Linked DNA regions of Homo sapiens: regions 2, 3, 4 and 5 are each linked to region 1. Evidence: promoter capture Hi-C in human tissues and cell types (Jung and others, 2019). All regions are on one chromosome and are shown on one strand. The core of a region is centred on a gene start or on the middle of the fragment in contact, and the rest is flanking DNA. Distances in the headings are between cores, read along the strand shown.

Region 1 (5,870 bases), core at 2,372-4,871:
AAGGCCAGGTTTTCCGGCCTGAGCCCCAGAATAACACATCAGCTGCTGGGAACACCTCGAGTCCTTTTGATTTCTCTCCATAGTCACGTTTTATGTTCGGTTTCCCAGACGGGATGAACCAGAAATCATGCTTTTTTGGAAACAGATTTTTTCATAGGAAGGAAAGAAAACACCGTGACTCGTCAGCACTCTTGTCCGTGCCTCTGAACCCCCAGCCTTGTGTCATTTCAGCTGAATCAGAGAACAACATCCCAGTCACCTGCTTGGGGCGTTCGCGTCTCCTGGCTTGTATTTTTGACTGAATAACAGCAATCCGTGAGCAGCAGCTAAAATAATAGAGCCCTGAAAAATGCCCCAACCCCCACTCCCTTTTCTGGTCCTGTCTCCTTGCTCCAGGAGTAGTGAGGAAAGAGACCAGTTAATAGCGTGGATGAAAGCTGAAGGACAGACGGTTTGAGAAGAAAAGTGAACATTCTTGCTTCCTCATCTATGCCAACTTTGAACAGGGACAGCTGCTGCCACAGGTAAACACCACTATAGGGTTGGCCGTGGCCCTAAGCTAGGTGTCACCGTAAGCCACGGGCCAGCACACGAACGCTGGCCTCTCCCCCATTCGCACAATTGAGCTCTTATCCTTAAACGAACTTTGTTTTTTGACCAGCTCACTAATTGTGATTGAAAACACCAGCTCCCCAGCAATGCACACGCATTGGAGTTAGCAGCAGCAAGACAGGCCCTAATTGCTCCATTTACATAAAAGTAGAAACATACAACTTCTAAATATAAATCTCTGGCACATCGTTCCTTTTGCAATTACAGTAAAATAAGGTACCACAGTTTCCCTCCCGGCTCCTTCTCGCAGCAAGCTGCTCCACCGGGTTCGCTAGTGGCTGCTCCTCGAGGCGAGAACAGAGCCATGCAAATGCTCCAGCGTGGAGTTGGGTTTGTGAAGTCGCCAGTAAATCAGGCCGCCTCCACTAGGTGAATAACGCGGTGGCAGCGGGCCACTTTGCTAGTGCAGTCGCTGGAGGACCGCGCTCCGCACTCAGAAGGGGGCAGTTGGCTGGTGCGCGAGCGCTCCCGGCTCGCCTCTGTCCGCGGGGAGCCAGCCGGCCCCTCCGCAGGTCCCGCTCCCTGACATTTGCTGTGGTTTCACTCCCTGGCACTGAGGGCTGGGTTCAGAGATTCCCAGCTGCACTCACTGAACAGTGATTTTTTTCCCCTCCCTGAATTCTTTAGCTGCCAAAAGGGGGGAAAAAATCAAGAGCTGCTCTTAAAAGAAGTTGCCCTTGCTGGTGCTCAGGGTAAAAATAGAGGCTGCCGCTTAGACCGGCTTGGCCCTGGCTCCAGGCATCCTGCGAGCTGGGCTCGAGCAGCGGCCGCGTTCCGGCGTGATCCCTGGAAGCTGCCAGCAGGTGCTGCTCAAGGTACAGTAGCAGGGCCGAGAAGCCGGGACCCGAAGGGCCTGGGGTGCGGGGAAGCTCCGGGGGAGGGGGAAGTGAAAGAGAAACCAAACCAAGGAAGGAGAAGGAGATTCTGGTCAGGACTGGGCTGACCAGCTTGTGCCCCGGGCCCTTGAGTTCCGCAGGGAAAAGCTGATTCCCAGTCTAGAATATTCCACAGAAGCTATTTTAACCTGCCTGCTTCCTCCACCACCCCCACCTTGATTTGCACCGAGGGAGGAGGCATTGCCACTGTGGTGCAGGTGGTTGCAGAGGGGTTGCAGCACGGCTGGTAGGCTGGCCTGGCAGGTGGGCACTCGGTGGCATCAGATGGCCAGCGGAGTTTCAGAGTCACACTTGTGTTGTGGCTCCTCTGGTCAGAGAGCTGCAGATTCCTGTGACACCCATGTTTAAGAACAGCCACCAGGCTTCTCAGAAATAGTATCACTTATTATTATCTGACAGCTGCACTTGACCCCCACAGGTTCATATCATGGATCCCATTTTATAGATGGGAACACTGAGGCCTGAGTTTACACGGTGAGTGAGCAGAGGAACTGGGATCTGATCTGGGTTTGTTTTGTGCCCCCCACCCCCACCCCACGTCACCTACACACACACACACACACACACACACACACACACACACACACACACTACTTTGTGTGGAGGCGGAGGGGATGTTTTCAGGACACTAGGGTTCATGTGTGGGTCAGGGGTGAGTTTAGATGCCCTGAAGGTCATTGACTCCACTAATTCTCAGCAAAAAGGGTGGAGAAGTTTCTTTCTTATAAAGGGTTTGAGTTCACCCAGTGCTAAGCTGAGGGGCAGGTTTGGAGTTCACCATCATTAATCCTATTTCTGTCTTCGCCACTCAGATTCACTCTCTTCCTCTACAACCTAATGATTTTTTTCCTACTTCATTTCTGCATATGCAGTTCTTAGAATACTCCTTCCCCCCACCCCCATGCAGCTCAGCACCCACACTTTCTCTGTATCTAGCCAAGAGAGACCCTTTTACACAGAAAACTTCTGGTGTCCTAATGGAACCTGCTTAAGCCACACATCAGGAGGCCAGAGCCTCTATATTTTGCTTGTGGGCACAGTGAAAAGTTTATTTTATGCATGTTAAATCCTGCATACAAAACAACATATCTGGTCATATGGCTCTCATTAGCTCCCAATTTTGCACATTTTATCCAACTTGTCATGAGAACTGGGCTTATGCTTCAACTGTAGTCCTTCAAACAACCCTTCACCGTTCTTGTCAGAGGACCCCTTCCTCCTGTGTTATTTACCAGACTTGCCAACACCCCTCCCCCACAAAAAAAGCCTGACCAGCTTTACCCCTATTTCAAGGAGTGTTCACTTCTTTTCATTAATCTGCTGTTATATTTGTAACAATTTAGAAATTATAGGAGTTGAAGTTCTGGTAAAAAAGAATGATGCATGAGGGTTTTTGTTGTTGTTGTTGTTGTGTGTGTGTGTGTGTGTGTGTGTGTTTGGTTAGTTAGAATGAGATTCTAAAGACCTGGGAAGGATACTTATGAAGTTCATTTAAAGAGAATTACTATTTCCAAAGTTCTTGATTTATGAAGCAGGCATTCAATTTCAAGATGTAAAATAATAGTGTAAGTTGGTTGGGGTCGGGGGAGACCATCATCATATGATTATACAGATTTTCCCAATTTTTTTCCTCAATGAAATAGCTTATTTTAAAAATATAAAATTAGAATCCCTATAAAGAACACTACCAATTTTCTTTCCTGAAAGAAACAATAAAATACTTTGTAAATAGAAGCAACTTCATGAAGTAACAGATGTTTTATGTAAAGACATAAAACTGAACCTGAATATAACGAGACGTGTGTGCGAGTAGTAAAAGTTGAAAGTTGGACACACTCATTGAGACATATCTATTTGATTCCAATGTTTTTCTAAAAGGTAGAGTAATCCTAGCCAGAGGTTTCACTGGCTCAGTGCATCACCCAGTAGTGTCTCAGAAGCCAGGAAGGGCTTTCCATTAGATAATGAATTATGAAATGTCTCACACTGGAAAAACCAGTCATCCGCTGATGTCATGCTGATTCCAACCAATCCCAAACAAAGCCCCAGCCCTCCTCTGTTTCAGTGGTACCAATGTGTGGTGTACAAATAAGTAGTACAGTATAAAACTTCACAGTGCCAATACCATGAAGAGGAGCTCAGACAGCTCTTACCACATGATACAAGAGCCGGCTGGTGGAAGAGTGGGGACCAGAAAGGTAATGCTTTTTAACTCTTACTTCTGAGCTCTTTACACATTCAAAGATAGGAAAGCTAGGAGGAATTTTACAACTAATTGGCATTTCCAATGTGCATTGTGATGTGTACCTTTTTATATTATTCAGGCAGGTTAATACAGCTTTTAATAGTCCTAGAGCATGCAAATAGATTATATGTTTATACAAGCCACTCAGCACATATATACAAGTACATATGCCAAAGAGAAAGCTATTTTTAAGAGTTACATTCGCAAACAGTAAATTCAGGGAACACACACATACTCAGATGCAGAGAGAATCCAAATATTGATAAGTTGCACTTATCTAAATGCTGCTATTAGGACTCCTGAGTTGTTTAGAGCCATTAAACTTTTGGTTGTATTTCAGACTTTCTTGTAAAACTTAATTGAACTGCAAAACATTTTGGGTACTGTATATGTGACTCCAAATAGGTGGATGATGTTAAGTATTATAGCACAAAGATTTTTTATAAAACCATTGTAACACAAATGTCCCCTGCCTCCCCCATTCTCTTTCACCATCCCCGTAAAAAATATGAGGCTTTTTAGGCAATGTTGACAAAGTTTTAACAATAATGGTGGAGTAATTGATGTTTCTGGAGCTGAAACCCCAAAGGTGTTAGGTTACTTGTAACAGAAAAAGTCTTACAAATAGTTGTTTTGGAAAAGGGGACAGTATATATAATTCAGAAAGCATTGTTAACCTGTGCAAACTGTAATTATAACTTAGTGTCACAATTTTCTTGCCCTCTTCCCCTTGCACTCAGATCTTATCTTGTAGTAATGATATTTATTAACTCTTTCCACCTAAACTGCATTGCTTGACTGTAATGCTATGAACACACTAGGTGTCAGATATAAGCTGAGTGTATCTTCAGAAACCAAGAGGGCTTATGTGTGGGAAAGAAACCGAGAGGGAAGGAACGCTTTAACAGATGGACCCCTTAAAGATTCTTCTGCAAGATAAAAGCAATAAGACAGAAAATGAAAAAGAGGGGAGGGGGAAGAATTTTTTTTAAGCCTTAGAAAGGCATTGTTAAAAAATTCACATTTTTCTTTTTCTGTGCACACTAAAATCCATGATGATTTCATCTGCACTGTTCCTTTGAGGGAAAAAGAAGCAGTCAAGGAGGCTGTCTATGAATGCACTGGTCGGGACAGGCTTGGGGCAAGCTGAAAAAACTACCACATGACAGAGAAAAATAATTTGCCAATATATTTTAGAGAGTCTTTTCCCATAGGACCAGTTATTCAAGTCATACGAGTGCACTCTTTTTATAAAAGGATGTGGGAAAGGCCAAGAGAATTTTGCATTTTATCTGTGAAGTCCGGCGAGTGGTGGTAGGCTGTAATGTGTGAGAGTGAGTGGGTCCCCGGCAGAAGGGGGCAGCTGAACGCGACGGGGAGAAAGCGCTTCTGGAACTTGGGCTTGTGACAGGCTGCCTGCCCTCTGGTCCTTCAGTGCCCTGCTGCATTTCACAGTTGGGAAGAGTGGAGTGTATTATATGACCCCAAACAAAAGTTCCATTGCGCTCTCCTCAGATTGCCTGCCAGTGTTGATGACCTGAACATTTAAATATGAATGAATTGGGGGAAAGGACCATCTCCCCTGGATCCCATCAGGCCAGAACAATCCTCTGTTACCCCTGAGTCCCTCTTCCCTGACCTCCACTACCTGTCCACTGGACCTCCCTGCACCCTCTGCCCCACCACGTGGCCAGGTGGGCGTTCTACCACCTAGGGCTGTGGCTTGGCTGGGTGGAGGGGCGGTGGGAACACTTTTTCAATCAATTCATCCCTATTGATTGAGACACTGTGTTTGTTTGGGGTTTCTTTTCTCCCCTCCAAAAAAGGAAGAAGGTGAAACCAGGAGACTGGGCAGAGAAAGAAAAAAAAATAGTGAACAAAATTAGGATAATTTATTTTAGAAGAGAAAGTAGAACCCCCGAAAATGGTGATATTTGAAGAGAGGTGTCTGTGAGGAAGCTAAGAGCAGAAGGAGAGCAGCCTGTCAGAAAACGGGCTGTCCCTCCCTCCCTAATCACAGCCCTACTCACAGCAAACTCCCTCCCTCTCCATTCACTCACTTACTTAGGGCCAATCCTTTCTCTCTCTCTCTCTCTCTCTCTCTCTCTCTCTCTCTT
Region 2 (5,870 bases), core at 1,366-3,865, 930 kb after region 1:
AGAGGTGTTGACATTTAAAACTGAAATAATACGTAGAAAGTAACATTGATGAAACTTATAGCCTCTAGGTTCAGAAAAAGTAAGAGCAACTAATTAATAACTATGGAACTTCCAGAAGAATATGAAAACTCAAATCCAAGAAGTAGAGTTTTTCTCATGATGCAAAAGGACCATTTGATGTCAATCAAAGAGAAACAACCATTAAAATGAATACAAATAGTGATGTAATCAGTTTGGGTTTATGTCCTAAAATACAAACAAAAAAAGACACCAACAAAACCCCACAAAACTCAAAAAGTCTTTCAGTCTAAATAAGGCTGGAGTCTCCCTTCTGAACACACGTGCTTTTGTGTTCTTTTTCCTATTTTGATAGTTGAGAAACTGAGGCAGCGTGGGAAAGAGAAAACTAATTCAAAGGCCCCAGTGTGAATCAACAGCAGATTCTGGGTTTAGAAATAGAAGAGCTGATTTGGAGTTGACTTGTTTTAGTTCTCAGACACGTGGATTCCCTGGCTGACTTTCACAGCGGCAGGATGGGGACAACCGCTGGGCACCTCACTGCAAACTGCAATATGGCTCAGCAGGAACTTGGCCAAGGTGTATAAAAGTGGCAGGCACAATGGGGAAGGGCTCAGGTGAGTGGCCAGGAGGTCATCTGACATTGAAAGATAATATGTCTTAACAGAATAGATTCTTTAGAACACAAACTTTGGAAAAAGGAAAAGAACTAAAGTAACAATTCCAGAGGCAGAACCATTCTGAAAGCCTTATCTGTGTTCAAAACCTATATGGAGCTCCTCCTTCTCACACCCTAGGCTGACGTGATTTTATGTTGCTGCTGCTTAATAGGAATTTCAAAGATTGCACCTATATTGACTTACATATACTTCCACGGAAGGAGATAAGATGCAGAAATAATCCACTCACCTTACACTTAAATCCAGAGACAGTTTAGTATCTTGGGTTTGTGCTCTAAAAGGCATAAGGTATGTCCATCTAAAACTAGGCCAAATTTTCTCCCATGGAGAAGCAAAGCTCCACATCTTTAATTGACCTGAACCTTAATTTTCTAATCTGTAAAACACAGAAAATAGTATCAACCTGCCAAGATGAAATAATGTTTCTAAAACAGTGTATGTTAGGCATCTTATCTGACAGAGTTAGCACTCAATGCATATTAATTATTAGTTTGCAGATATACCTCTTAGCATTGTTAACTGAGAATGCTTGTAGGTATTTGCCTTTCCAGTAGAGAAACTGGGACTCTATGTCCTGCCAAAGACCTTGTGTATGTATAAGCTAGTGGTTGAGAGCAGAAGGAAAATATATTTACTTGTAAGTCAGGGTACGTAATTGGAAAAAGGATATCACACTCATTTTGGGCACAGCTCATTAGTGTGCATGGGCCCTTCAGGCCACCTCCTTCTGATGTAAGCCACATTAGTGTTTACAGATGGTAAAGCACATTTATCTTTCAAAACCTTCAGAGATGTTCAAGCAACTCTGAATGACTCTCAAATAAAAGCTTTTGCATTTGTTATGTGGCATCTCTTCTGTGTAGAAACCCCAATAACACCACAGTTGAAATTCCATAGCATGGTAAGCAGTTCCAAAAATAAGTATAGATTGCTACTGTGAAATACATATATTTTCCAATAACAAGAATTGCAGTCTCATTTAGAGGTTTTTTTGGTCACTGTTGTTTCACAATTAAAAAGATGTGAATAATTTTATTTAACTTTTTTATCTTTTTATTACCAACTAAATGTTACTAATGGGACAGTACACATGGCCATGAAAACTCAAGACCCATTATTTCTTGATGTTCACACCAAATTTGTGGGTTTTTTTTTTTTTTTATTTGCCAAAATGCCTTAGTCGTTATATTTCACAGTTACAGTATTTGGGGTAAATTGAAAATATGAAACTTATGGAAAAAGCCAACATATAATCAAAATCTGTAAGTCTTTGCAAGGCTTTATAATCTGTAGACAAGTATCAACAACAGAAATAACTCTGTTAGGAAATTATAACTGCATTTCGGCAAGACAGTGTTTTTGGCCTACAGATTCTACTTGAGCATCTAAAAATCAAAATGTAGCAAAAATTAACACAATCAGCAATCTCCCATCTCCACAATGAGTAATGAGAACATTATAGATCAATTTCATGGGACACTGGGAACTTTTCAAGATTAATTAATAACATCTATTCTAAAGAGAAAGCAACAGACACATTTATCTCATTATACTTATTTGCAGTAATTACATAAAAGAGAGCATTTATGTAAATTACAGCAAATATTTCAGTTTTCATTTTGCCTGCTGCTTCTGAAGGCATTCTTTTGGCAAGAATAACTTCTGGGCTTTCATGAGATACATTAAATCTATTTAATAGAATTTCCTATCTTCCCTGTGACTTTCAGAGGGATGGCTATTCAATCTCTTCTAAAAGGGAAAGAAGGCTGATTTCCAAAACTTGGAAATAATCATAAGCTTTACACAATCTTGGTGAATCTTAAATTAGGGAAAGAAAAAAATGTAACAAAGGAAAGCTTTGGGTTGAATTCGGAAGTATTGTGAGATTCTAAAATTTGATGTAGTGTATTTGCCCTCATAACACATTTCTGTAGAAAATAGATTTATAGCATCCATTTCCACTCTGATTTCCTGTTTCTCTGTCCATTCAACAAGTATTTAGAAGCCTAAAATGGCTATGTGGAGTGTTTTAAGAGTTAACCTAGGAAGTGAGCACCCCTCTGGGAGCAATTTGATTGGTTAATACTAGTTCTGAGCTCGGCATGTGAATCTTTATGACTGCACAGCTTCGGGAATGAATTGCTTGACCTCAACTTTCTCCATGGGGGTGCACACCTTAATTTTCCACACTAATTTTCAAACGGAATGACAAAAACACTTTACTTATCTAGAGGTCAACTATTCTACAAACTCAACTACTTGGAACTCAGACAAAAAGCAAGCAAAAAAAGTATCTCTGCAGGCAAAGTGATGTCATCAAATCACATAGATTTTCCCATCGGAGAGCTGCTCATCATTTGAAGCAAATGTACATTGATTTTATTCACAATTCCCATCACTATGCTGATGTTGTTTTTGAGCCTAGAGCAGATTAGAGGAAACAAATCGTATGTGAGAAAGACAGACTAATAGAGGCAATACACTCAAAATAATATGATATAAAAAGATACGGCCGGGCACAGTGGCTCACGCCTGTAATCACAGCATTTTGGGAGGCCAAGGTGGGCTGGTCACCTAAGGTAAGGAGTTTGAGACCAGCCTGGCCAACATGGTGAAACCCCTTCTCTACTAAACATACAAAAATTACGTGGGCGTGGTGGCAGGTGCCTGTAATCCCAGCTACTTGGGAGGCTGAGGCAGGAGAATCGCTTGAACCCAGGAGGTGGAAGTTGCAGTGAGCCGAGATCACACCATTGCACTCCAGCCTGGGTGACAAGAGCAAAACTCCATCTCAAAAAAAGAAAGATACTAATTCAAAAATTATTAATAAAAAGGTCAAATGATTCCATGTGCCCCTGTAGTCCATAAGGAATCACTTACTATAAAAAATTAATATTCATAATGATTATAAAAACAAAAGTTTTCATTTTATTCAATCTACATTAGTTAAGAAAGTGAGGAAGTTGTTTTATAAAGTAATTTTATAAAGAATTTCATGGAATACAAAATATTTCAAGCTGGTGCAGTGGCTTACACCTGTAATCTCAGCACTGTGGGAGGCCGTGGCGGGCAGATTGCTTGAGCCCAGGAGTTCGAGACCAGCCTGGGCTACATGGTGAAACTCTGCCTCTACTGAAAAAATCAGCTGGTTGTGGTGGTGTACACCTGTAGTCCCAGATACTAAGGGGGCTGAGGTGGGAGGATCCCTTGAGCCCAGGGAGGTTGCGGCTGCAGTGAGCCATGATTGCACTGCTGCACTCCAGCCTGGGCAACAGAGTGAGACCCTGTCTCAAAAGTAAATGATAGAGATAGATAGATAGATAGATAGATAGATAGATAGATAGATAGATAGATAGATAGCAGATAGATAACACCAGATAGATAGATAGATAGATAGATAGATAGATAGATAGATAGATAGATAGATAGATAGATAGATAGATATTTCAAAAGAATTGACACATAAGGATATGCTCTGGAGATCTAGCGTCTATCACGATGAATGCTGGAAAATCTCATAGTTATTTAAAGAATTGCTTGTGAGCTCAAACATGGAACTCTGTCTTTTTATTTTTTTTTAACCAGAAGCATGTTCTCCTCCAAAGAATAAAGGCTTTTATCTGTAACCACAGGAACTTGAAACAATCTGCAAGACTTACGTATGGGCTGATATTCAGCAGGTGGTAACAGGAATATGGGAACCAAAGCCAGAAACTGAGCTTTCAATGAGAATGTTACTCTCTCCCCTACTCCTACAGACTTTTGGTGTGGAAAGTGAAGAAGAAGGGAGGAGGAAGGGAAAGTTCATCCTGCTGAGGATGGAGGAGCAGGCTGCAAGCTGGCTTACTCCTTCAGGGAGCTTGAGGGGGCACTATTAATAATTATGCTTGGACAACAGGCATACACCAAGACAGTTCTAGGCAAATGGAACATATGGTCACCCTAGTTTTAAGGAGCAAGATGAAAAATACTATGCTAATTAACTATCCTCTAACAATTCTTGAGGTAGAGGACAGTGGGAAAATATAAAGGAGTAATTCACAAAAGTATTCCATCGAATACCCTGAAGAAATAACTTCCCCAATTTATGTGCTCATTCATTCAGTTAGTCTCAGTGAATAGCTACTGTAATACATTACAATTTCCAATATAATCTCTCTTTCCTATTAGATTACATGTTTTTAAGAGCCAGAATGTCTTTTAAAATTATATTTCCTTTCAAGTCTCATTTATTTCACTTCTTCAGTAGATGATAAATATCTGTTAACAATCAAAATAGTATCCGTAAGAAAAATGGAAGACCTACATATTGAAAAATAATATGAATAATAATTACACTTTTATTCCCCCATCGAATCTTGAATTAATCTTACAAGGATAAAATCAGTCACTTGAACTTAGTGCTATACGATCCTGGATTGCTCTGAACCACAGTATTTACCTTTCCAGCACTGACAACCTCATGGCATTGTTAAGATACATTACAGGAAAGGGGCACATTAGAAAAAAAATGCTAGAAAATAAATTGTATATTGTGTTACTTGATAGACTTTATAATTCAATTTGACTATCAGTCTACTTGATAACTATAGTGTTATAGTTACTGATATAATTTGGTTACATCGATACAGATTGTGATCCACACACAATCTGCTGCATTTTAATAGATTAAACTACACCTTTCTAAACTGTATTTATAGAGAAAGATGTGGGTGAGTGTTGGGGGGGAAATCTAAGTATGTTTTGCTATGTGTAGAATTATAACTTTTGAAACAAAACATACACACACAGCTACATTTGTTATACTTTTGGATATACAATCTTAACTTCCTGGGAATTTCTAGAAAACTTTTAAAAGCATAAAATATTGTATACATGAAATTAAATTATCTGCTCATATTTCAAAATTTTAGAGACATTGGCATCTGGAAATTTTTCAGGGTTAATTAGTTCATTCATTCACTATAAATACATTTTAATAGCTACTGTGCTAGGCCATAAAGTGATCACAGAGCTCCTGCCTCAAATTGCTCATAGTCCAGTGAGCAATTTGTCTCCAAGGTTATAAAGGCATTTGACACAGTGAGTGAAGGTATTCACAGGATGTGGGGAGCATACAGGAGGGACACCAGTGCATTGGGGATTAGGAAAAAGTCTTCCTAGAGCAGGAAT
Region 3 (5,870 bases), core at 1,767-4,266, 830 kb after region 1:
AGGAAGCAAGAAGGGCGTAGGTTAAAATGGTGGCTGTGGACATGGAAAAGAATGTGGACATGGAATGGGTGGGCCCGGGAGCCTGGCCACATTCTGATAATGCAATAAAATCAACAAACCAGTGCAGAAGTCTGGTTGCCAGATGCCCTTCCCATTGCGTATCTTCTAGGTGTAACTTGCTGAGGTCTATAGAGTCAACAATTAGGGCCAAGAAAAAGTCATCCTGTAGGCTCAAATTCTATCATATGACCTTTAAATATTTTTTTCCATTCAATTCTTTAAAATACCATTTCCTTTGGCAAAGTAATTTTTTCCAATGGGAAGCTCATTGGTAAGTTTTTTGGTCCTCATTTTAACCTTGTTAGAACAATTGGACAGAATTGCAAATGTTGATTAATATTTTGCACATGTATTTATCCTCTTTTTCATGTCCTTAAGTACCTCTTGAAAGCTCCATATTGTAGAGAAGACCCTATGACTTCTAGATCCGCAGGTTTTCAGTGGGGTAGGGTACGTTACTGTTATGTTCTGATCAAGGGATCAGCCGGGTTCCGCTGAGGCTGCACAGCTGTGACCCAGTCAGCAAGCCCTGACCTCAGACGCCTCTCATGCTCAACACTTTAGCCTTAATCCACCTCAGTTCTTCTCCAGAGCAGACATCTGAAGAGTGTGTACATCAAAGAGTTAGGAAGGTGTGCCAAGGAAGGTATGAATTCTCTCACTTGATATTTCTTAACTTTGTAAACACTCTACTTCCCTACAGTTCTGGGTTAGCAGATACCCAAAAGGGGTACAGTTAATTCCTCATTTAAAGTTTCTTTCTCCTTTAAACTTCACTGTTCAAAACTGTCCATCTATTTTCTCTACACTTATTCCATTCTCTGTGTATCCACAGTATGAAAGAAATAAGAATGGCAGAACTCAAAATATGGATCTTAGAAATTATGTCCTCAGAGCCCCTGACTCATCAGAGTAAACTGTGGCCCAGAGGGGGATGCGGCCTGGTCAGTGTCGCTTGGACAACTTATAGTTCTCTAATTATATTAAGAACTAAGATCTTCCCTGTAATTTGACTTGTGTCCCTAATGTAACTGCAAATTTGAAGAACAATTAATGAGGAATCTTCTTTAGATAGAATGTTTTGCTTCCTCCACGTTAGAAACATATTCATTGCAAGAAGCCAAAATAAGAATTTCACAAGAAGTCAGAACAAGAATTTTTCATCAAAAAACCACTATGGTAAGTTTTATCTGTGGATCAATTATACCGCAATGAGCCCACCTGTATCCTGCCTTAAACTTAAATAATGTAAAAAAAAGATGAATAGATGGGACGGTCAGGCACCCGCTCTCCCACCTGAAGGATTAGCTTCCTCTAGATTAGTGTTTCTCTGCAGCAGCGTTACTGACATTTTAGGCTGAGTTTTTGCTGTGGGGCTGTGCTGTGCATTGCTGGATGTTTATCAGTACCCACTATCCCCAGCTTCTACTCCCTGGATGCCAGTAGCAATCCTTCTCCCCCCACACTCCCCTCCATGCTGTCCCCAGTTATGAGAACCAAAAATGTCTCCAGACATTGCCAAATTTCCCATGAGGGAAAAAATTGCCACCCTCCTCCCAGAGAACCACTGGTCTAGAACGTGGAGGTTATTCTGGGAGGTCCTTGCAAAAGTTTCTCATTAATATTTGTGTTCCATATCCTTTACCGCCTACTCTACCACTACTGCTGTAATTTATATCCTGAGCTCCCCCGAAGAGGTTAACATACAGCAAACAACACTGCCCTTTCATAATGCCTCCTCCAGACAAGGTTTGACAAAGAGTGGAGATCACTGAAAGACGTGAATACCAGAGGGTGAGGCTCACTGGCGGGGTGGGGGCGGGGGGACTATAAAGGTGACCTACTGCAGAAACCACTCAGGTAGTTAAACTCCTCTCTGAGTTTACAATTCATTATGTATTACTGTATAACAAACTATCTAAAATTTAGTGGATTAAAACAATATCAATGTATGTGGGTCAGAAATTTGGTCAAGGTTCAGATGGGCAGGTTCTTCTGCTCCATGTGGCACTGGCTGGGGTCACTCATTCAGTTGTATTCCCTTGGTTGCTAAGATAAGCTGGATATCCAAGAAAGCTTCACTCACATGTCTGGTATACTGGTGCTCCTCCAAATGGCCCCCCTCTCTCTCCACATAGCTAGCTTGGGCTTCTTCAGAGGATGATGTTCAGACATGTAGCATGCTAGTTGATTTCCAAGAGCATAAAAGGAAGATGCCATACCTCTTAAAGACTTAGCTTAGAAATGGCACGTGGTTTTAAAAATATGTGCAAGGATACATATAGAAACAAATATAAATGTGTGGCTGGGTGTGTGTGTATGCATGTATTTCCTCCCTCGTCTGCAAAGGGGACCTAGTCATAATGATATTCCAGTAACAATTAGCACGTCTAGTATTCAGATCTTGGTTTCTAAATACCATTTTCTAGTAAAAGGAACAAGGGCTTTTTGGAGAAATGATTAATTCCAGGGCTATTGTAGGAAAAATACAACATGATCCTGAACATCTTGTATTGACAGAAAGTAAGAAAGTGTTCTTAAAAAGGTAGGAGCGTGTTGAAAGGACATTCAATTCATGCTGAAGAGGCTCTCAGTGGCCAGATCTGTGACAATTTAAGCAAAAAAACAATGAGTACAATAAATGATAACCCACAAAATAAAACAAATATCAACTAGTCCATATTGATATAAATAAATAATTGAATAAGTAAACAAATGGAGAACGGGCAACTCTTACAATAGAATTACAGTTAATAAATCTAAAAACAGGAAAAATAGAAGTAGAATACCAAATAATTGTTTAAGGCAAGAATCACAGACAGATGCTAAAATTCGTGGGCAAAACTATAATGAAAAACAGAATATTTGCATATTTTCTATGGTATCCTAGAAAATGCCTCCTCAAAAGATAATGCATTCTATCTAATCCCTGAAATCTGTAAATGTTATCTTACATGGGAAAGACTTTATGGATGTGATTAAATGAAAGATCTTGAGATGGAGGAGTTATTTTGGACTGTGTGGGTGGGCCCTGAATAGAGCCACAAGTTTGCTTACAAGAGACAGGCAGAAGGAGATTTGATGGCACACAGAAGATCATGTAAAGGAGGAGGAAGAAAGCAGACTGAGAGAGAGAAGATGTTACACCACTGTCTGTGAAGGTGAAGAAATGACCATTGGCCAAGGAATGAAAGGAATGCAGCTTGAGATGCTGGACTATGTGAGGAAGGGAATTCATTTCTAAAGCCCCCACAGAGAGCACAGCCATGTAACACTTTTCTTTCAGTTCAATGACATTGATCAGAATGAAATCCAAAGACTTCTGGCCTCTAGAATTTTGAGAGAATTAAGTTCTATTGTTTTACATGATCATGAGTGTGGTAATTTGTTACAGTTGCTGAAGTGAACTAGTACAGTCTCAGAATATTTCCCCAAAATATACTTACTGATTACAGAAACAAACAAAAGCAAACCCAGGACTTTTAAGGGGAACTTGTAAGATGCCGCCTTAACTAAAGGATCAAAGTTAAAATGACCAGTAATACAATATCAACATCATGTACATCCTGTTACGATATACTGCAAAGATCCAAAATCACCTCTGAAATTTCTTGCCAAAAATGCATAATCCTGATCTAATAATGAAGCATTTCACACAAAACCAAATTAATGGACATTCTACAAAATAACTGCACAATACACTGAAGGTAATTAAACAAAGAAAGATTGGAGACTGACCCAGATTGGAGGAGACTAAGAAAAAATGACAACTAAATGTGATGTGGAATCCTGGAATTGATCCTGGATGAGAAAAAAAAAATGACATTCGTGGGTATATTCATTTTCTGTCACTGCATAGCAAATTACTCCTAGCTTAGAGGCTTAAAACAACAGCCATTTATAAGCTTTCAGCTCCTTAAGTCAGAATTCAAGCATGGTATATCTCTACTCAGGGTATCACAAGACTGAAATCAAGCTGGCTTGGCTGAGTTCTTTTCTGAAGCTCTGGAAATGGATCCACTTCCAAACTGATTCAGGTTGTTGGCAGAATTCAGCTCCTTGTGGTTGTAGGACTGAGGTCCCTGTTTTGTTGCTGGCTGTCACTTGGGTTTTCTCTCACCTCCTAGAGGCCACCTGCATTCCTTGCCATGTGACTACTTCCACATGTCAAATCCCCTTTGTGCTTCAAATCTGAAGCCTAATGAGTTTGACCTCTAGACCCAGGTTTAAAGGACTCATGTGATTAGTTCAGTCCCACCTAGAGAGTCTCTCTATACTAAGATCAACTGATTTTGGACCTTCATTACATCTACAAATTCCTTCCATAGAAGCACTTACTTAGTGTTTGATTGGATAACTGAGAGACAGTGTGTGTGGCTGGGAATCTTGGGGACCATCTTAGAATTCTGCCTACCCAAGTGAGACAATCAGTAAAATTTGAATAATGTTTATAGATTAGCTAATAGGATTATATCAATGCTAATTTTCCAGTTTACATAATGTTACATTGGTTATATAAAATGTTAACATTAGTAGAAACTGGGTGAATGTACATGGGAATTCTATGTACTATTTTTGGCATTTTTTGTAAATCTAAAATTATTTAAAGTAAAAAGATTTTTTAAAAAGCAAGTCATAGCCCATAGCCAGGCTCAGTGGCTCACACCTGTAATCCGAGCACTTTGGGAGGCTGAGGTGAGAGAATCACTTGAGGCCAGGAATTTTGAGACTGGCCTGGCCAACATAGTGAGACCCCCACCTCTATAAAAAATTTAAAAATTAGCTGTGCATGGTGGTGCATGCCTGTAGTCCCAACTACTCAGGAAGCTGAGATGGGAGATCGCTTGAGCCCAGGAGTTTGAGACTGCAATGTGCTATTATTGTGCCACTGCACTCCAGCCTGGATGACAGAGCAAGCGCTCACCTCTTAAACAAAAACAAAGCAAGTCACAAGGCTATCTTGGTGTCATGGAATACTATGCAGCCATAAAAATGAATGAGATCATGTCATTTGCAGGGACATGGATGAAGCTGGAAGCCATCATCCTCAACAAACACAGGAACAGAAAACCAAACACCGCATGTTCTCACTCATAAGTGGGAGTTGAACAATAAGAACACATGGACACAGAGAAGGGAACAACACACACCAGGGCCTGTTGTGGGGTGAGGGGTGAGGGGAGGTAACTTAAGAGGACAGGTCACTAGGTGCAGCAAACCAACATGGCACATGTATACCTATGTAACAAACCTGCATGTTCTGCACATGTATCCCGTATTTTTGTTTTGTTTTTTAGAAGAAATAAAGAAAAAAAGACTAGCTCAGTGTCAAGGGGAGGAGAAATAAAATGCATCTCTTGCAAGAAGGAGGCACGTGCATATAGGGAGGGAGGAATAGATGGTGACTATCCTTGAAGGCTATTACAGACACTATGAGTAGTAAAATAAATATGACCAGTTTCTGTCTCATAGAACTTGTAATCTGGTGGGTGAGAGGATGTCTATTCAGCAGATATTTGTTATGTATCTCCTATAGAGTAGGCGCTATGATAACAACTGGAGATACAATAGTGACTACGATACCCACAATTATATTATAGTTTAATAGAAGAGAACCACCAGTAACCAGGTAATGATAGCTCAATGTGTGACAGCTGTTTTGGTCAGATAAGCACAGGGGACTAAGACAGCAAACAACATGCAGCGAACACTTCTAATTGTGCCGATTAGAAAGTGCTTCATTCATGGCTTAATAGACAAACATGAAGATGTACTTCTTTCTTGCTTCTGCTCCAATATTTGAAAATGTT
Region 4 (5,870 bases), core at 1,513-4,012, 600 kb after region 1:
ACCCATTGATCATTGTTGCTTTTAAGATAGTCCCTGGCACTACTAGGAGGTCAACCATTTTGTTCTTTTCAGTAGCCAGATGCCAGCAAGTTACTGTCTCTTCAAATTAAGCTAGGTCATCCTGCTCCCCTATCCTTTCACAGTTTCTGAAGTTGGCTTCTATACTCAGTTCTAATTCTGACATCACACTAGGCAGTGCTGGGCATCATTCATCCTAATACTCTATAAGTGACCTTTGTTTTGTCTTTGTGTTTTGCCGATGTCTCCTGTAATGTATTGCCAAGCAAAATGTAGTTCTGTAAATGCAGTCTGTGCCCTCCTTGCTGCCTTGATGCATGCCAGATCTCGCTCTCCTGAATATGTCAGGAGCTTGAAAGCGGCATCAAGAGACTTCCAGAATTTCCATGCAGCTTACCCATATATGGAAATCCAGGAGATTCCTTTCTTATCATCTCTCCATTGAATCATAGAGCAGGAGAAATATTGATGACATAAAAAGCCTAACAGAGAAATATAGTCCTATCTTAAAAGAGTTCCAGAGGTATGTGGAGATCCTTCTCAGTAAGAAATTGCCAACAAAGGGAGCTCCACAAGTCAAATAATAATCCTCAAGCCAAAAGGGTGTTGTTATGTTTAGCCTCTTTTTCCAGTACCCGAAGCAGAAAATGGCCTCTCAGTAGGGTCAGATGGGTCTCTCCCCCAGTGAAATAACCTCAACTATGAAACTCTACAGCACATCAGGTGGGAAGGGAGTCACAGAACTTCCTAAGATTTATTACCTACAAACTTGGTACCCATGATGAGCTCCACTCATCCTCCCCAGATTGAGAAACTGTATAACACTCGTACAGAGATTATCCCCATTAGACTATGAGTTTCATTTCCTAGTATACATACAGCAAAATCCTGCATGCATAGCAAATAGAGAAGTGGCTTTTGATATAACCTTTTCAAAAAAATCTTATTTGAAATCTAAATATAGAAAATGGATAAGATTAGAAATATTTTGCTTGGAGCTGGCTAGGGGCCTCTATGAAAGTTCCATGTAACCTATGGAGAACACTAGTGCTCTGGGAAATATAGTTTGAAATAAATCATAATAAATATCATGTATGTCCACATTTCAGAGAGTATGTTACAAATGCTACTGTTCTCTAAAATTAACTTTGTCCCCTTTCTCCAGATATATTAGCGACAAACTTACGATGATTTGGGCTTAATGTCCTTAAGCTGGTTGGATTGGTGATGGATGGCATCATTCAAACCTCCCAAGTCTAAGCTGATGGGGCTCCATTGACATCAACACAAATATCAAATCTCAGGGTCTGTGCGATGAGCAAGAAAATCTTGATTCCAGTTTTCTTTCAAATTAGTCCCATGTGCTTACAATTGAATGAATTATTTTTAAAATAAGAATGTTACCAAAATGCCAGAGATTGGGTCCAGGTCTTCTTGCTCACCAAGCAGAAAGCTAATCACTGGGACAAAGAGTATTACCAGGGCAGAAGACTTTATATTTGGGTAACGTCAATTGGGAGAACAGGAGATAAGTCTCAAATCCGTCTCTCCAGCAAACTAACATTAGGGGTTTATGTAACGTGGAAAGTGGGGAAAACAGGAATTAGGGAGGGGCAAGAAAGCAATCAAGATGAATGAAGGTTTGACATCTCATCCTCTGGATGTGGGGATCTAGTGGGTTTCAGTTCTAAACAAGGAACTCAGATGGGACAAATGTAAGTTTCAAGTTTTAAGACAAGGAAGGCCCATTTCTACGGTTATTCAAAAACCTAAGAACAGATCATCTCATTGTTTGTGGAGATTGAGGTTTGCTACATTCCCCAATGATAAAATAGAAAACACCTTGTTTCATCACAGAATACTTTTTTACCAAAGAAGTGTTCAGGCTTTCAATGCACTTATAATTTATGTAAGGCAATAAGACACTAGTGTACTTGTTTTCCAGTTTTAGACTCATAGAAATGTACTTGTAACTTGCTTTTTAAGTAAGGAAGAATATTCTGCATCTTATTCCAGAAGTTGTGTTTTGTCCCCTTCTGCAATCCTACCATGCCATGCCTATATATGAAATCTCTTTGAAAACTATAGAAGCATAGGAGTTTTATCTTTAGAAAGTTGCCTACAGCTTCTAAAAGCACAGTAGTGTAGCTTATCAATTCAATTAAATTACCCCTGTTGTATCTGTGAATTCTGGACATGACTCAACAAGTTATTCTATAGACTTGAATAACTGACTAAATGAAATGTAATTTCAAAGCCCTTTTTAATCCAGTTGCCACAAAGATTTATCTTTCAAATCTTAAAGCCAATAATCCCATGAAGACAATTAGTAGTTTCTTTAAATTAAATTCTACTTTAATGTTAACAGGTCAGCAGCCTTTTCTTACTAATGTAGCTCATTCTAGAATAAAATATAAACATCCTTTGTAGAAAAATACGCTAAAACTAAAACTTCGACTTAAGTGCCAAAACACGATTTTAAATTTCAAAATGAAGGGCTGCATCGAAACGCAGAATTCACAGAGAAAATGGTGAAGAACCAACCCCACAAAGCCTTCTTCAAATCAAGGCCATAAATGGAAGATCAGAGTATGCAGGGAAGGAGTTGTGAGGTTTCAAGAGAATTTCTATTCTCTGCTATGTGGGTGAGTCACTTTCAACTTAAGGGGATCTGTTGGGGGGTGCGTCTGGGAGTGGGAGTGGGCTGTTGCTAGCTACTCTGTCTCAAGCATAGAGCAGATGGAGAGCTTGAAGCATGTTCCTGGAAATGTGGGCCCATCTTGAATTGGAGGCTTATTCTTGCCCGAGAAGATTTAAAGTGGTCTCTGGCAGGGCACAGAGAATAGATGATTGCATTTGGGAAGGAATTAATCTCTAATTGATGGCAGGGCAAGGAGTATATGAGTTTTTCCCATGGATCACACAAAAAAAGAAGGTCTAGAGCTATTTAGGTCTAACTCGAGAGGATGCTTGCAAGGAAGGGGATTCTCAGAAGCAAATGGGCACGGCAAGGATCATCTGAGAGCCAGCATCGGGGTGTGTAGGAGCCAGTGTGCTGCAGTACCAGTCACTGGCCAAATAAAAACGTGAGGAGCAGAGAGAAAGAGCTAAACACACCCCTTCACAGATGGTGAGTGGCTGCTCAATATAGGCCCTAACATGAGGAAGGGCTGAGGGAGTGTAACCCTAGAATAAAGATTGAAGTGATGTTATCTTAATCTGAATGTGCTGGTTTCACAATGGACTGGTTTGTAATTTCAAGTGATTTTAGGGCTGTTTGTGGCCTAAGTTTGATTGAAAAAGTCCTGGTGGTGGGAAAACAATCCCTTACCCCTGCACATACTTTAAAGGAATAAGGAGAGACAAAGCAAGCTTGCATTTTCGTTACATTTTGGCTGCGTTTTAGTCGTGGCTTTTCACATTCTGAATTATATTTAGATTGTTGAATTGAATTCAGTGAGTACACAATCCTTGCTACGAGGACAATTAGTACAATTAAATAAAAAGAGTGTGTGGTTTGGGATCAGAAAACCTGGATTTGTATGCCATGTCTTTGCTTAACTCATAATATGACCCTGAGGAACTTAACCTCTCTGAGCCCTGGTATCTTCGTCTATTGATTGAGAAACACAACTTGAGATTCTTTTGAGTATTAAATGAGATAATGAACAGAACAGCAATTCTGGTAACTGGCACTTGGAAAGTATAATAAATGGTTACTCTGTAGGACACAGTCATATAGATGCATTTTTTTAAGTGAGCTTAAAAAAAGGAATGCTGGTGTGTGTATTAGAAGATAATTTCTTTATAATTATGAACAAGTTCTCTCTTGTCTTTGGAGGAATCACTTTTAAAATGCATTAATCAGGCAGCCTGTGGACTCCTTTCCACAGTCATATAAGGACATCCATACACACAATAACAGTAATCATCAGTCATGCTAATGCTGGTTAGCCACAATGACACACACCTCTGAAGTGCATATTCAAAAAGGAACGTTAGAAAATATGTTTTTAAACACATGTCTCATAATAATGACTACATCTTGAGTAGCGACTAAAATAGACTGACCTTGTGCTTTTTTAGTGTCCAAAAAATGTACATTCAGCCCAGCAAAAACCTCAAATGGCTTCTTCCAGGCGGTTGAAAAACTTCGCCGGTGAAAAGCCACTCATATTTTGGCGGAGGATGAACCTACAAACTCTGCTGATTTTTTCCGACACGTAAGATTCTAAACTGTTACCGCGTGGACATTAACACGACTAAGGCAGACTCTCCAGTCTTGAAGGAACTTAGCCACGGAATTGAGCAACAATAGCATGGATGAACACAGGAACAAAGAAAACGTTTTACCTGCCTAACTCCCAGAGGGGTGGGGTGATGGGGAGGAAGGTAAAAAGTGCCACAGAAGTTCTAAAAGGATCAGGCCATCATTATCCAAACCAACCACCCCTGCCCTCCACTCAGGCTTTATAATTATATGGTCCTTTGCCCCCCTCCTTGCCTAGAAATTTCCAGAAGACCACAGGAATGATCCACTGTGGATGATGTCATCTGTCTTGCTCACTCCACTTACAGGCCACCCTGATCCAACCCCATCAGGAGGATGCTGTACTTTCCATGACCTGACCAAATACTTCACAGATCCCCTTCATCATCCCTCGCTTTCCCCACACACTTTTTATCATAGTGTGACAAGAAACGCTAACCACAATTTATATGTAGCCTCATTAATCCGTTATAGGGGCGTGCAGTCATTTCTTTCCACTTACATTCATTCAGACTCTTTCTGGTTCCCACTCTTTATACTGTTCACTCTCGATCTGTGCCAGAGACTTTGGAATTTATTTTTCCCAGTCCCACAGAACTCTCTACCTCTTCATGCTGCTAGGCTTTATATAGTTCCTTTTGCTGGAACTTTGACCCACTCTTCATTATTTGACATTTCTTCACATGGAATTTCATCAGCCAGTTATCAGGATATGTTTCCATTTCTCTTTTCACATCATGCTGAATTTTATCACTGATCTTCTCCTCTGTAGGGATCTAATTCTTTACTTTCACCACCTTACTACAAATAACCTTTATTGGGCAAAAATATTCAGAAAAAAAAAACATTTTAAAATGCCTTTATTCCTCCTAGCAATCACCTTTCTCTCTATATTTAGAACAAGTCGACAGAAAATTAACCTTCTCCAAAGGCAACAGCATGCCCTATATATTCATTTGCAAATGCAAAGATCCCTCCCTAAATGTACCTACTAACTCCAGGCATCATTCTTCCAAAGAACAAAATTCAAAAGAGTGTCTATGTAGGATGCCATTTTTAGAAGGTTCATCAAAATCCGTATGTCTCCTTCCCTTGCATATTTTATTATGACCATTTTTTCAGTAATTTATTCATGCTTCACAGGTGGCCCTAATTTGCATCAAAGTAACATCTCTTTTTTTGATTCAGTAAAACTCTGACACTTTCTGTCTTCGTCCTTCTCTAACCTCTTAGCAGCGTTGCGCACAGTGGAACACTGGTCCTGGCTTCTTTAGCATCACACTTACCTGGTTGCCCTCCCACCTCCCCACCACTTTGTTCATCTCTTGTGGGTTCCTTCCTCTCTACCTGATTTGAATGATGGAGTCCTTAGGGCTTGGGCCTGGCCCCTGTTATCTATCCATATTTTCTCCCTTGATGGTTTCATCTTATCTCATAACTTTAAGTACCATCTATATGCTGATGTCTCTCACATTGATATCTGGATTTGTATGTTTAATTATTTGTCTTCTTTACTTGTATGACTAATGAGTATTTTAAACTTCATATGTATAAATAGACCTCTTTATGTCCCTCTGTCTTC
Region 5 (5,870 bases), core at 2,124-4,623, 580 kb after region 1:
TAGGTTCCCAGGAGTCCAGGACTCCAGGATCAGGACACCAAGATTTTTTTTTTTTTAGACCTCATTTTCTGGAGGCAAAGAGGCTATTCCTACATAACTTGGTCTGGTTTTTATTGAAGTTGGCTCTGAGATGGGGAAACAAACAAACAAACAAACAAACAAGCAGGCTATAAATGACCCAAACAGGTCTTCATGCCTTCATTCTCTCCATTAGTTCCATTTCCTCCTCCTCAGGGTCACTAGAGTTATCTTCCTGGGGTACATTCTGATCACACCACTTTTGTGACTTAAATTACTTGGTCATTTTCCATTGTCTACGAGATAAAGCCACACCCATAGCACAGTAAACGAGGCATTTCACAACCTGAGTCTAATTTAGCTTGCAAACCATGATGTTCCTCCTACTCTCTCCAGTCTCAATCCATGCAAACAAGGGCTGCTGCTCTCCTTTTGAACTCCTCAGGCTTATCTAATGCCATTGTTGCTGCAATCCTCCTGCAGCAATGCTTCCTCTTCTACTTTCTCTATTGGAAGAATTCCTATTCGTATGTGAACGTCCTTTTTATCATCAGCATCTTCCCCAGCCACAGAATGCCATTAATCATTTGGCTTTGTTCTTTTTCATTTTAGTTATTTGTTACTATTTAAAAAGAGTGTATTTACAATCTATCCTGTTTCAAAACAGGTTTGGATCTCATAAACAGTTATAAACAGCACAGTAATATAAATATTAGGATTTTGAGGAAAAAAAGAATAAAGAAAAACAGCCCCAGGGACAGAAAATGGAACCAAGAATGTGTCTGATCCAATCAAGCATACCAAGGAGTCCTGTACAGTTGCTAAAACTGGGCCACAAATTGAGCATTAGGCTTTCCCACAGCCAAGATGAGGAGAGAAATGTGGGTAGTCACACAATTTCTTTTGCCCATAATATAAACACCAAATAATTGGTCAGTGGATGCATAGCTATTCTTCACACTTACACTAAAAGAGAATTTTTTTCCCCAAGGTTTACTCATGAAGAATAAACTGCATAATGCAACAGAAAACACTCTCCACAAACATCTCTATGGGAGAAACAGCTGTTAGTATCCTAAGGCATGCCTTCAGGATTTATGACATATCAACAAAGCACAATCAGTCAAACCAATTCTACAGAGGAGACTGCTACAGATTATATAATTCTCAGTTCCCCTGACTTTGTTTAAAAGGGCAATATTTTTGGACTAAGATATCTGAAAATCTCTCCAGCTTCCTTACCTCCCTAAATTTAACACACATTTTTGCATACATTTTTTATTTTTGGTGTTCATAACCCTTTTAAAACCCTTGGGCCTCACAATTTAAGGATCTCTAGGGAAATAGACTAACTATCCTTAGGAAATCCTTTATACGTGTTGCTTTGCTAATACACAGATAATTTGTGTTTCCAGTGGAATCAGAAGCAAATCCCTTAATATGCCATCCTGTTGCTAGTTACGGAGGAGATGGGTGAGAATGGCATCTCCCAAAGAAAAACTGAGTCACCTATCAATGACACATAACTAAATAAAAGATCATCATACCCTAACTGGGAAGTCAGACAAAGAGAACTTATAGGCAGAATAAAAATTACCCTTATAAAATAATTTTTGAAAGCTCTCTAAAACATAAAAATGAGCCATTGAGGTCCAATTTTCTTCAATTTGTATGATCAAAATAATTTGTCTTACAAATTTTACAGGTGAGTGAAAGGGTTTCCCAGCTTAACCATAAAACAGCCTCAATAAAGCCCATATGATGCCTAGCTTTGATCAGGAGATAATTCTTGTGTGTGCTTGAGAATTATGCCAAGCTAAATAAATGAAGTAGCTTGCTGAATGAGATTGCCAATGATGTGTCAGGCAAACATTAAGGAACTTTCATTTTAGGTGATATTATCTGGCAATAATTAGATACAGCCAGTGCCCATGATTCCCTGCTCTTAAACACTGATCTAGGAATGGTCCAGATGTTGATTTGCAGGTAGGCATAGTGGTGCAGCCAATAACCTCTTGACATTCCTTCTGGTGCTAAGATGCTCTGCTTCTCTCAACAAGCCTGAGTATTAATGAAGAACAACATCAAAAGCCACAAATTAGAAGCAAATTTCTTAATACTTAAGATAATCGTTCAGCGTTTGGCTGTAGCATTTTAAAGCTTTCAAAATGTGATGACCTGGGTAAAGATTTCAATAAAAACAACAGTTCAATATCATTTTGAACTCAGGTGTTTATAAATATAACACATTATGATGCCCTGGTTCCATTTTTTTAAAACCCATTTTTTAAAAAAATCATTAAAATCCATTAAGAGTATCTTTGTATTAGAAGAGAACTGGGCACAGTGGCTCACGCCCGTAATCCCAGCACTTTGGGAGGCTGAGGCAGGTGGATCACTTGAGATCAGGAGTTCGAGACCAGCCTGGCCAACATGGTGAAACCCCATCTCTACAAAAAAATACAAAAAATTAGCTGGGCGTGGTGACGTGTGGCTGTAATCCTGGCTACTCTGGAGGCTGAGGTGGGAGAATCACTTGAACCCGGGATGCGGAGGTTGCAGTGGGCCGAGATCGCACCACTACACTCCAGCCTGGGTGACAGAGCCAGACTCCATCTCAAAAGAAAAAAAAAAAAAAAACATAACTGGCTGGCCACATGTAGGAGAATGAAACTGGATCCTCAGCTCTCTCCTTATACAAACTTGAACTCAAGGCAGATTAAAGACTTAAACCTAAGATGTGAAACTATAAAAATTCTAGAAGTTAACATTGGAAAAACCCTTCTAGACATTGGCTTAGGCAAGGATTTCATGACCAAGAACCAAAAAGCAAATGCAATAAAAACAAGGATAAATAGCTGGGACCTAATTAAACTAAAGAACTTTTGCATGGCAAAGGGAACAGTCAGCAGGGTAAACAGACAACACACAGAGTGGGAGAAAATCTTCACAATCTATACATCTGACAAAATACTAATATCCAGAATCTACAATGAACTCAAAGAAATCAGTAAGAAAAGAACAAACAATCCCAACCAAAAGTGGGCTAAGGACATGAATAGACAATTCTCAAAAGAAGATATACAAATGGCCAACAAATATATGAAAAAATACTCAACATCACTAATGATCAGGGAAATGTAAATCAAAACCACAATACAATGCCACCTTACTCCTGCAAGATTGACCATAATCAAAATATCAAAAAAAAGTAGATGTTTGTGTGGACGTGGTGAACAGGGAACACTTTTACAGTGCTGGTGGGAATGTAAACTAGTACAGCCACTATGGAAAACAGTGTGGAGATTCCTTAAAGAACTAAAAGTAGAACTACTATTTGATCCAACAATCCCACTACTGGGTATCTACCCAGAGGAAAAGAAGTCATTCTTCAAAAAAGATACTTGCACACGCATATTTACCACAATTCACAATTGCAAAATCGTGGAACCAACCAAAATGCCCATCAATCAACAAGTGAATAAAGAAACTTTAGTACACATATACAATGGAATACTACACAGCCATAAAAAGGAATAAATTAACAGCATTTTCAGTGACCTGGATGAGATTAGAGACTAATATTCTAAGTGAAGTAACTCAGGAATGGAAAACCAAACATCGTATGTCCTCACTGATATGTGGGAGGTGCACTATGAGGACACAAAGGCATAAGAATGACACAATGGACTTTTGGGACTTTGGGGGAAGAGTGGGAGGGGGCGAGGGATAAAAGACTACAAATATGGTGCAGTTTATACTGCTCAGGGAATGGGTGCATCAAAATCTCACAAATCACCACTAAAGAACTTACTCATGTAACCAAATACCACCTGTACTCCAATAACTTATGGACAAATTTTAAAAAATTTAAAAATTAAAAATAAATAAATAATTATGAAAGTAGGCAATACACTAAGTTGCATATAAAATATCATAAAAGATAGTGATATGGTTTGGCTGTGTCCCCACCCAAATCTCACCTTGAATTGTAGTTCCCGTAATTCCTACATGTTGTGGAAGGGACCCGGTGGGAGGTCATTGAATCACAGGGGCAGTTACCTCCATGTTGTTCTCATGATAGTGAGTGAGTTCTCACGAGATCTGATGATTTTATAAGGGGCTCTTCCCCATTTTGCTCATTCTTCTCCTTTCTGCCACCATGTGAAGAAGGATGTTTGCTTCACCTTTTGCCACAACTGTAAGTTTCCTCGGGCCTCCTTCACCTTTTGCCATAATTGTAAGTTTCCTGGGGCCTCCCCAGCCAGGCTGAACTGTGAGTCGATTAAACCTTTTTCCTCTATAAACAAAAACAAAAACAAAAACAGACAAAAAAGAGATGGATTTTTTAAAAACAATAGTTCTCAACTGGGGCACGATTTTACTTTACCATCCAGGGGACATTTACCAATCCCACATCTGGAAACTTTTTTTTTGTAGAGATAGGGGTCTTGGCCACGTTACACAGGGTGGTCTTAAACTCCTGGCCCCAGCCTCCCAAATCGCTGGGATTACAGGCATGAGCTACTGCACTCAGCCAAAGCGACATTTTTTATTGCTGCCACTAGAGAAGGGAGTGCTGCTGGCATCTAGTGAGTGGAGGGCAGAGATGCTGCTAGTATAAAGTTACCATGGTTTAGTTTATTTTAAAGACAGCCTCAAAAGAAGCCCTGAACTAACACAGTATGAAGGCAGAGCTGCTCTCTGATGCAGAGATGGGGGCAAGGTGAAGTCAGATGCCCAAGTCCAGCTGACTGGAGCTCGTAGTGGCCCCTGAGGTGTCTCTGCCAAAAACTGCACTCCACAGAGCTCAGTGAGGAAAACCTGATGTAGTGCACATAAAATGTGGCTTTAAATCCTTTAGATCTACATTATAATCCCCTGCATTGACTGCCTACTAATTTCATCAATTTGGGTAAGTGATTTACTCTCACCAAGCCTTAATTTCCTCCTCTGAAAAGAGGGAACAATCATGCTCACTTCACAGGGTCATTGTGGTGCTAATAAAATGTAAAACTCCAAAACCAGCACCTAAGACACGGTGCTTAGTATTTGTTAATTAATTTATTTATCATTTGTTTATTTTTTTGAGATGAGTCTCACATTGTCGCCTGGGCTGGAGTGCAACGGCACGATCTCGGCTCACTGCAACCTCCGTCTCCGGGGTTCAAGTGATTCTCCTGCCTCAGCCTCCTAAGTAGCTGGGATTACAGGCCCACACCACCACACCCAGCTAATTTTTTGTATTTTTAGTAAAGACAGGGTTTCACTATGTTGGCCAGACTGGTCTCGAACTCCTGACCTCGTGATCCACCAGCCTCGGCCTCCCAAAGGGTGTTAATTTATTTTAAAATAAATTCTTGTCATCCTATGAATGTCAGAGTTGGCCCCAGTAATACTGACTGAAAGATCTTTAGTGTTTGAGGCTTATGACTATATATTGATTCATTAACACATTTAAACTATTATGAAAGACTTCATAGCAACATTATAAAAAGAAAAGGAAGACATTTCAAAATCCAGTATTTGCAGGACTAGTCACTTACCAAAACAACCCATGCATTTAATTAGCAATGATCTATAGCTTGTTTCTACAAAACATAGATGTGATTTATTATTGTACCGTAGGCATGCAGAGTAAGAATGCAAAGTTTATAGCAAGAGTAAGATATTAGACATCTATTGTTTTGCTTGCCTAGACTAGCATACAAGCTTCTGCTGGGAAATCCTTCCTCTATTTTAACTTTGGGGTTTACGTGGGAGCTTCTCTTGGTTTATAAATCCTTCCCCTTGACTACTATTTATGGTCACTGGGAAAAGATACCTATTCCAAACTGGAAAGGCATTGGTGT

Evidence for each region. The method cuts DNA at HindIII sites, captures the fragments that hold promoters and counts their contacts. A contact is called where the count stands out against the background at its distance.
Region 2: a fragment that was not itself captured here is called in contact with the fragment with the promoter of INHBA in region 1 in 2 of the 25 tissues and cell types used here (aorta and mesenchymal stem cells).
Region 3: a fragment that was not itself captured here is called in contact with the fragment with the promoter of INHBA in region 1 in 2 of the 25 tissues and cell types used here (lymphoblastoid cells and mesenchymal stem cells).
Region 4: a fragment that was not itself captured here is called in contact with the fragment with the promoter of INHBA in region 1 in 1 of the 25 tissues and cell types used here (lymphoblastoid cells).
Region 5: a fragment that was not itself captured here is called in contact with the fragment with the promoter of INHBA in region 1 in 3 of the 25 tissues and cell types used here (H1 embryonic stem cells, dorsolateral prefrontal cortex and hippocampus).

Annotation. Positions count from the first base shown.
Region 1 is chr7:41,700,841-41,706,710 of GRCh38, reverse strand. It overlaps INHBA (inhibin subunit beta A), which reads left to right and starts at 3,621. Exons shown (of 3, transcript NM_002192.4): 1 at 3,621-3,706. The region is part of intron 1 of INHBA-AS1 (INHBA antisense RNA 1); the gene reads right to left. RefSeq lists an enhancer at 1,491-1,580. The HindIII fragment of the contact is 9,174 bases long and covers 1-5,870 here.
Region 2 is chr7:40,770,767-40,776,636 of GRCh38, reverse strand. All of the region lies in intron 13 of SUGCT (succinyl-CoA:glutarate-CoA transferase), which reads right to left. Among named protein-coding and RNA genes, the nearest start is that of LINC01450, 210 kb to the left of the region's middle. The HindIII fragment of the contact is 3,890 bases long and covers 671-4,560 here.
Region 3 is chr7:40,867,682-40,873,551 of GRCh38, reverse strand. The region is part of intron 1 of LOC105375242 (a long non-coding RNA gene); the gene reads left to right. It also overlaps a transcript of SUGCT not described here. Among named protein-coding and RNA genes, the nearest start is that of LINC01450, 110 kb to the left of the region's middle. The HindIII fragment of the contact is 4,088 bases long and covers 973-5,060 here.
Region 4 is chr7:41,095,857-41,101,726 of GRCh38, reverse strand. LINC01449 (long intergenic non-protein coding RNA 1449) reads right to left here and starts at 123. Exons shown (of 6, transcript NR_110832.1): 1 at 1-123. The HindIII fragment of the contact is 4,261 bases long and covers 632-4,892 here.
Region 5 is chr7:41,117,415-41,123,284 of GRCh38, reverse strand. It overlaps LINC01449 (long intergenic non-protein coding RNA 1449), which reads right to left. Exons shown (of 6, transcript NR_110832.1): 4 at 4,002-4,318. The region is part of intron 2 of LOC105375241 (a long non-coding RNA gene); the gene reads left to right. Among named protein-coding and RNA genes, the nearest start is that of LINC01449, 19 kb to the right of the region's middle. The HindIII fragment of the contact is 5,711 bases long and covers 518-5,870 here.